Linked DNA regions of Homo sapiens: region 1 is linked to region 2. The links are contacts of gene promoters, found by promoter capture Hi-C in blood cells and fetal thymus (Javierre and others, 2016). All regions are on one chromosome and are shown on one strand. Each heading gives the region's core, a stretch centred on a gene start or on the middle of the fragment in contact. The rest is flanking DNA. Distances are from core to core; before and after follow the strand shown. Region 1 holds the start of LOC105375423 (a long non-coding RNA gene). Region 2 holds the start of ZNF394 (zinc finger protein 394).

Region 1 (3,613 bases), core at 625-3,124, 500 kb before region 2:
AGATATTATTGCTATGCCCCTAGAAACAAGGGATTTGAAAGTCAGAAAGGTTAAATAAATTGGCCAATAAGTGGCAGTCAGTTCTCCTGCTATACTATTTCTAGAAAACAAACCTTTATTTTTTAAGGGGCTTGGCTATTTTGAGCAGAAGTGATCTGTGGTCACACAGATCTTAATCACCACTCCCCGACAGAGAATAAACATTTATCAGGATGGGGCCGGGGAAGGTGGCTCACGCCTGTAATCCCAGCAATTTGGGAGGCCGAAGTGGGAGGATCACTGAGGTCAGGAGTTCGAGACCAGCCTGGCCAACATAGCGAAACCCTGTCTCTATTAAAAATACAAAAATTAGCTGGGCTTGGTGGCAGGCGCCTGTAATTCTAGCTACTGGGGAGGCTGAGGCAGGAGAATCGCTTGAACCCGGGAGACGGAGGTTGCAGTGAGCCGAGATCGTGCCACTGCACTCCAGCCTGGGCAACAGAGCAAGACCCTGTCCCCCATCCCAAAAAACCAAAAACAACCATTTATCTGGATGGTGTCGAAATATTTACCACTTCCCCTGCACTTCTGACTTTTCGAACTTTGTGCTTTTGCCTGAGTTCCATCTGGAATGTTCTTCTTGGATGGTGGAGCATGTCGTCCACCTAACCAATTCCTACCTCTCCTTTGAATACACACCACTTAGTGGAAGTCTTCCCTGATCCCTGCCGACAAGCTTTTCAACTGCATCTCTCTCTTAAGCTAACCCAAGTCAGTACCGGCACCCTTGCTGGAATGTCCCATTTTGGGAAAGGCAGTATTTCTTGTATGAATCTTCATTTGCTCTCTACTGGGGGTAAGTGCACGTTAGAGAATAATGAAAACTTCAAGTCAAGGGATGCAGAGTGCGTTTACCAGTTCAACAACCTGGACTTTCTACCAGGCCATTTTCAAACTGAGCTGCCACGGACAGCAGCATGGACTTTGGTGCTAGCGGGGTCGGCCTGAAATCTGCAGCCTGCATGCTCCAAGGATGCCTGAAAAGAAGGGTCGAACCATGGGCCGCTCCCAGGACCCACCCTTTTAGTCTTCCCAGCTGGCTCAGGAAACAAAGGGGGGCCGGAGAGAGGCGGCGCCCAGGGCGCAACAGCCGGAGACTGGCGCTGCGTGCCTGGGGACAGAGGCCTCGTGCTAGGAGCCCCAAGCAACTACACACCTAGCCGCTGGCAAGAACAAACAGCAGTGACAGCAACAAACAGAACCGACAGCCGCAGACCGCCGTCGCTGCGGCCCACAAAGGCCGGAAGTGTGGCGGGTGCCGGCGGCCGAGGCGCCCTCTCTAGGACTTCGGAGGGCCCGCATCTCGGTGGTTCCCTATACTGGAAGACCCCCGATTCCCAGGGCGTGTACCCTACGACGGGGGCCTCAAAATGAGTCAAAAGGGAGAAAAGCCTGGGCGCAGTGACTCGTACCTGTAATCCCAGTCCTTTGGGAGGCCGAGGTGGGAGGATCGCTTGAGGCCAGGAGTTCGAGACTGGCCTGGGCAACAGAGAGAGACCTGGTCTCTACCAAGAATTAATAAAATGAGCCGGGTGTGGTGGGGCACACCTGTAGCCCCAGCTATTCGGGAGGCTTAAGTGGAAGGATCACTTGAGCCCTGGAGTCAGAGGCTGCAGTGAGCTTTGCTTGCACCATTGCACTCCAGCCTGGGAAACACAGTGAGACCCCATCTCAAAAAGGAAAAAAAAGGAAAGAAGAGAGGGAAGGAGAGAGGGAGGAAGGACAGAGGGAGGGAGGAGGGAGAGAGGGAAGGAAGGAAGAGAGGAAGGAAGAAAGGAAGGAAGGAAAGAAGGAAGGAAGGAAGGAAGAAGGAATCGAATTCAGCGGCTCACCTGTGGAAGAGGAAATCCATTTACAATGCATCCAGGCCTGAGTTTCAGCTGAGGGGTTGGAGCATGGCTGATTATCATCCTGGCTTCCCCCAGAGACCAAGGAAACTGAGGCCTGGAGCAAGTTCTTGCTTGCTCAGGGTCTCACAGTGATCCGGGTCAGAAGCCAGGACTTGTGGGACCACGATTTGTGCCCTTTGCACTGCCTGGACTGCCTCTCATCATAAATGAATACGGATAAAATTCGTTATGCTTTCAAAGTGGTAGGAAACACATGACAGATCAAAGCAGACAAAATAGTGTGCAAGACTTTTGAGAAGACGCCTCACACTCGTCGGGATGGCTACAGTTTAAATATCCCTTATCTGAAATGCTTGGGACCGGAAATGTTTCAGATTTCAGAATTTTTTTTTGACTTTGGAATATTTGCTTTACTGGTTGAGCAGCCCTAATCCCAAAATCCTAAGTCTGAAATGCTCTAATGAGCATTTTCTCTAAGTGCCATGATGGCCCTCAAGTTCTGGTTTTGTAACTTTTGGAGCTCAGATATTTGGATTAGGGATACTCTCCCTGTACTAAAAACAAACAAACAAACAAACACAAAAAACCACCACCACCACCAACAAAACAAAACAAAATAGCAGGTGTTTGGTGAGGATGTGGACAAATTGGAATCTTTGTGCATTGCTGGTGGGAACATAACATGGTGCAGCCCCCGTGAGAAATAGTACAGCGCTTCTTCAATAAAATTAAAAATAGAATTGGCTGGTGTGGTGGCTCCCGCCTGTAATCCCAGCACTTTGGGAGGTGAAGGCAGGCGGATCATTTGAGATCAGGAGTTCCAGACCAGCCTGACCAACATGGCAAAACCCTGTCTCTACTAAAAATACAAAAAAAAATCAGCTGGGCGTGGTGGCTCACGCCTGTAATCCCAGCTACTCGGGAGGCTGAGGCAGGACAGTTGCTTGAACCTGTGAGGGGGAGGTTGCAGTGAGCAAAGATGGTGCCACTGCACTCCAGCCTGGGCGACAGAGCTAGATTCTGTCAAAATGAAATGAAATGAAATGAAATAAAATAAAATAAAATAATCTCTGAAGGCTAAAGAGAGAAATTGGGTCAGCTGAAGAGTTTACAGATTTGCAGAGAATAGAGGCAAGGAAGCTTTGTGAACTACTTTTAGGTTGTGAAACTTGGTCTTGATTCAGCCCCCACATGGTCTTCATATACAAAGCTTCTTTGCAGAGGAAGCTCTTTGGAGAAAGATAACTGGTGAGATAGAAAGCACAGCCAAGAGATAACAAGGGAGACTTCTCTGGAGAATTTTGTGGATGAAGAGGAAAAACAAATCCATAAGGTCATGGGGATAATGAGTTATTTGAAATCAGAAAGAGTGATTAACATGGAGGCGGGGCGCAGTGGCTCATGCCTGTAATCCCAGCGCTTTGGGAGGCTGAGGCAGGCGGATTGCCTGAGGTCAGAAGTTCGAGACCAGTCTGGCCAACATGGTGAAACCCCATCTCTACTAAAAATACAAAAAAATTAGCCGGGCGTGGTGGTGTGCACCTGTAATCTCAGCTACTCGGGAGGCTGAGACAGGGGAATTGCTTGAACCAGGGAGGTGGAGGTTGCAGTGAGCCGAGATTTCGCCACTACACTCCAGCCTGGGCAACAGGGCGAGACTCCATCTCAAAAAAAAAAAAAAAAAAAAAAAAAAAGCAAACCAAACCAAAGCACACAAACAAATA
Region 2 (3,556 bases), core at 170-2,669:
CAAAGGATCCTCCCACCTCAGCCTCCCAAGTAAGTGGTGTATCCTGAGTTGGTTCCTTCCAGTGGGTTCATCCTCTCGCTGACTTCAAGAATGCAGCCTCCGACCTTCACTGTGTTACAGCTCTTAAAGATGGCACGGACCCAAAGAGTGAGTAGCAGCAAGATTTATTGTGAAGAGCGAAAGAACAAACCTTCCACAGCATGGCAGAGCACTCCAGCCGGTTGCCTCCGCTGACTGGGGTGGGAGCTTTTAGTCTCTTATTTGTCCCCTCCCATGTCCGTTTCTGTCGTATCAGAACGCCCTTTTTTCCATCCTCCCTGCGATTGGCTGCTTTTAGAATCCTGCTGATTGGTCCATTTTACAGAGCGCTGATTGGTGCATTTTACAAACCTCTTGCTAGCTACAGAGCGCTGATTGGTGCATTTTTACAAACCTCTTGTAAGACAGAAAAGTTGTCCAAGTCCCCACTGGACCCAGGAAGTCCAACTAGCTTCACCTCTCACTGGGACTACAGGTGTGCACCACCACACCCAGCTAATTTTTTATTTTTTGTAGACATTGGGGTCTCCAATTCTTGGCTTCAAGCGATCTTCCCCCCTCAGCCTCCCAAAATGCTGGGATTACAGGCATACGCCACTGAGCCAGGCCAGGACACATCTTTGAGCCTCAATTTCCTCATCTTTTTTGTTTGTTTGTTAGGATCAAAGTCGTTAACATCTGATGTACATGGAAGCACTTAGTTTTAAAAAAAAAACAAAACTTTTTCCAACTGGGCGCAGCGGCTCACGCCTGTAATCCAGCACTTTGGGAGGCCGGGGCAGGCGGATCACGAGGTCAGGAGTTCCAGACCAGCCTGACCAACATGGTGAAACCCCATCTCTACTAAAATACAGAAAGTAGCCGGGCATGGTGGCGCGCGCCTGTAGTCCAAGCTACTCAGGAGGCTAAGACAGCCTGGCGACAGAGCGAGAGTCCGCCTGAAAAAAGAAAAAAAAACAACTTTGTCCAACCTGGGCAATATAATGAAACCCCATCCCCACAGAAAAATTAATAAACCGGGCGTGGTCGCGCGCACCTGTAGTCCTAGATACTTGGGAGGCTGAAGCTGGAGAATTGCTTGAACCCGGGAGACAGAAGTTGCAGTGAGCCGAAATCGCGCCACTGCAGTCCAGCCTGGGCGACAGAGCCAGACCCTGTCTATTTAATCCTGAAGGTTCCCGCCCTTGCCGGAGCTCGGCCACCGGCTCGGACGCCCGTATTTCCTCGGGATGCGGGAAACCGTCAAGACCCTCTGCGTCGGGCGGGGCTAGGACGATAAACCAGCGAGATGCACCTCACCCCATCAGGCGCCTAGAGAGGCCCCGGAAATGCAGGGAAAGGTGCCGCAAGGCCTCGATGACGCGCTTCCGGCACGGGATGTTTTCGGTTGTTTGACCGAGAGAGTTGTAGGCGCAAAGCTGAGGAAAGGAGAGTGTGGAGAGGGGCCTGGTGTGGTGGGGCCCGGTGTTTGGGACCGGAGGGTGTTGACGGCTGATGAGTTCCTTGGGTTTGCTCTTTCTTCACCTGAAAAGAAGACTCCAGGAAGGGCAGCACATGCCGGAGAAAGATGAATTCCAGCTTGACCGCCCAGAGGCGCGGCAGTGACGCCGAGTTGGGACCCTGGGTGATGGCTGCGAGGTCCAAGGACGCGGCGCCGTCCCAACGCGACGGACTTTTGCCCGTGAAAGTGGAGGAAGACTCACCCGGAAGTTGGGAGCCCAACTATCCCGCGGCTTCGCCGGACCCCGAAACTTCTCGACTGCACTTTAGGCAGCTGCGTTACCAGGAGGTGGCTGGACCGGAAGAGGCGCTGAGCCGGCTCCGAGAACTCTGTCGTCGGTGGCTGAGACCCGAGCTGCTCTCCAAGGAGCAGATCCTGGAGCTGCTGGTGCTGGAGCAGTTCCTCACCATCCTGCCCGAGGAGCTTCAAGCCTGGGTGCGAGAGCACTGCCCAGAGAGCGGGGAGGAGGCGGTGGCCGTGGTGCGGGCTCTGCAGCGAGCGCTCGATGGAACCTCATCCCAGGTGAGAAGCGAAAGGCCTGTTCTGGAGGTGGGAGTGTGGAAAATAGGCGTTTAGGGGTGCTCTGCGTTTCGGAACTTACTTCCTTATTACATTTCGTGTGAACATTGGGGTGTGTATGGACTTCCTTTCTGTAGGCCACAGTGACAGATCCATCCAGGAAATGACTTGTTATAGACCTCAGCATAAAGCGAACACGGATTACTGGTTTTCTTTCTTTTTCTTTTCTTTTTTTTTTTTTTCTTGTTGTTCTTGCTGTTGTTTGAGATGGAGTTTCACTCTTGTTGCCCAGGCTGGAGTGCAATGGCGCGATCTCGGCTCGCTGCAACCTCTGACTCCCGGGTTCAAGCGATTCTCCTGCCTCAGTCTCCCGAGTAGCTGGGATTACAGGCGCCCGCCACCACGCCCGGCTAATTTTTGTATTTTTAGTAGAGACGGGGTTTCACTGTGTTGGCCAGGCTGGTCTCGAACTCCTGACCTCAGGTGATCCGCCCGCCTCGGCCTCCCAAAATGCTGGGATTACAGGCGTGAGCCACCGCGCCCGGCCTTGTTTACTTTTAATCTGTATCATATTTCCATTCCCATACATCACAGTGATATAAGTTAAAGAAATATTTTGCTCCTACCTACCTCCAAAATTAGTGTAAATAGTCCACAGAAAGGCTTTTCAGGATTACAAGAGAATGTCAGCCTCTATCTCTGATCTCTCCAAACTCCCTTGTCGGTACAAGACTCAAGAAGAGTGTTAGTGCTGTACAGGGACAGCAGGTACTGAATGGGGCTCTTGTGTTGTTCCAGGGGATGGTGACTTTCGAGGACACGGCTGTGTCTCTAACCTGGGAGGAGTGGGAGCGCCTGGACCCAGCACGGAGGGACTTCTGCAGAGAGAGTGCGCAGAAGGATTCCGGGAGCACAGTTCCGCCGAGTGAGTGCTGTTGCTCTGCTGGTTTATTGCGGTGTGTGGTTTGTGAAGGGCTGGTTCACTACCATCCCTGAGCCACTATGCCATTCCCAGACTTGGGCTGAGAGCCTTCAGGTGCCTTCTGTAACGCAAGCAGGAGCCTCTGTACTGCTAGGTGCTAGATTCAGCTTTTTACTTTGGTTCATTTTTAATGTTTTATACATACAGAAAACTATATAAAAAAAAGATAATGACCATCCCCTGTGTCTACCACCCAAGTTTATCAGATCTTAATACTTGGCCATATTGCCAAGGAAATAGTATGTTACAGCTGTAGGTGAGGCCCCCACATAGCCTCCCTGAAACCCTTCCCCTCTATCCTTCTCCAGAGGTAGCCAGTAAGCTGACTGTTGTGTTCATGACTTCCATGCATGTCTTATATTGTCTCTACATAGACACGTAGCTCCACGCTGTATATCATTACTGTATGGCTTTTTTTACTCAACATTACATTTTTGAGATTTACTCATGTTGATGCATGGAGCTCTACCTATTTCACGGTCCAGATACTCCAGAATTCTCTCCATTTCTGTTGA

The links. The method cuts DNA at HindIII sites, captures the fragments that hold promoters and counts their contacts. A CHiCAGO score of 5 or more calls a contact.
Region 1: a fragment that was not itself captured here is called in contact with the fragment with the promoter of ZNF394 in region 2 in 1 of 17 cell types (erythroblasts); the score reaches 6.9 in erythroblasts.

What each region holds. Positions count from the first base shown.
Region 1 is chr7:99,995,369-99,998,981 of GRCh38, reverse strand. It overlaps LOC105375423 (a long non-coding RNA gene), which reads right to left and starts at 1,907. Exons shown (of 3, transcript NR_159960.1): 1 at 1,872-1,907. RefSeq lists enhancers at 1,330-1,449, 1,460-1,549. The HindIII fragment of the contact is 2,314 bases long and covers 718-3,031 here.
Region 2 is chr7:99,498,144-99,501,699 of GRCh38, reverse strand. It overlaps ZNF394 (zinc finger protein 394), which reads left to right and starts at 1,419. Exons shown (of 3, transcript NM_032164.4): 1 at 1,419-2,062; 2 at 2,858-2,984. The coding sequence starts at 1,607. RefSeq lists enhancers at 1,809-2,088, 2,311-2,979. The HindIII fragment of the contact is 23,896 bases long and covers 1-3,556 here.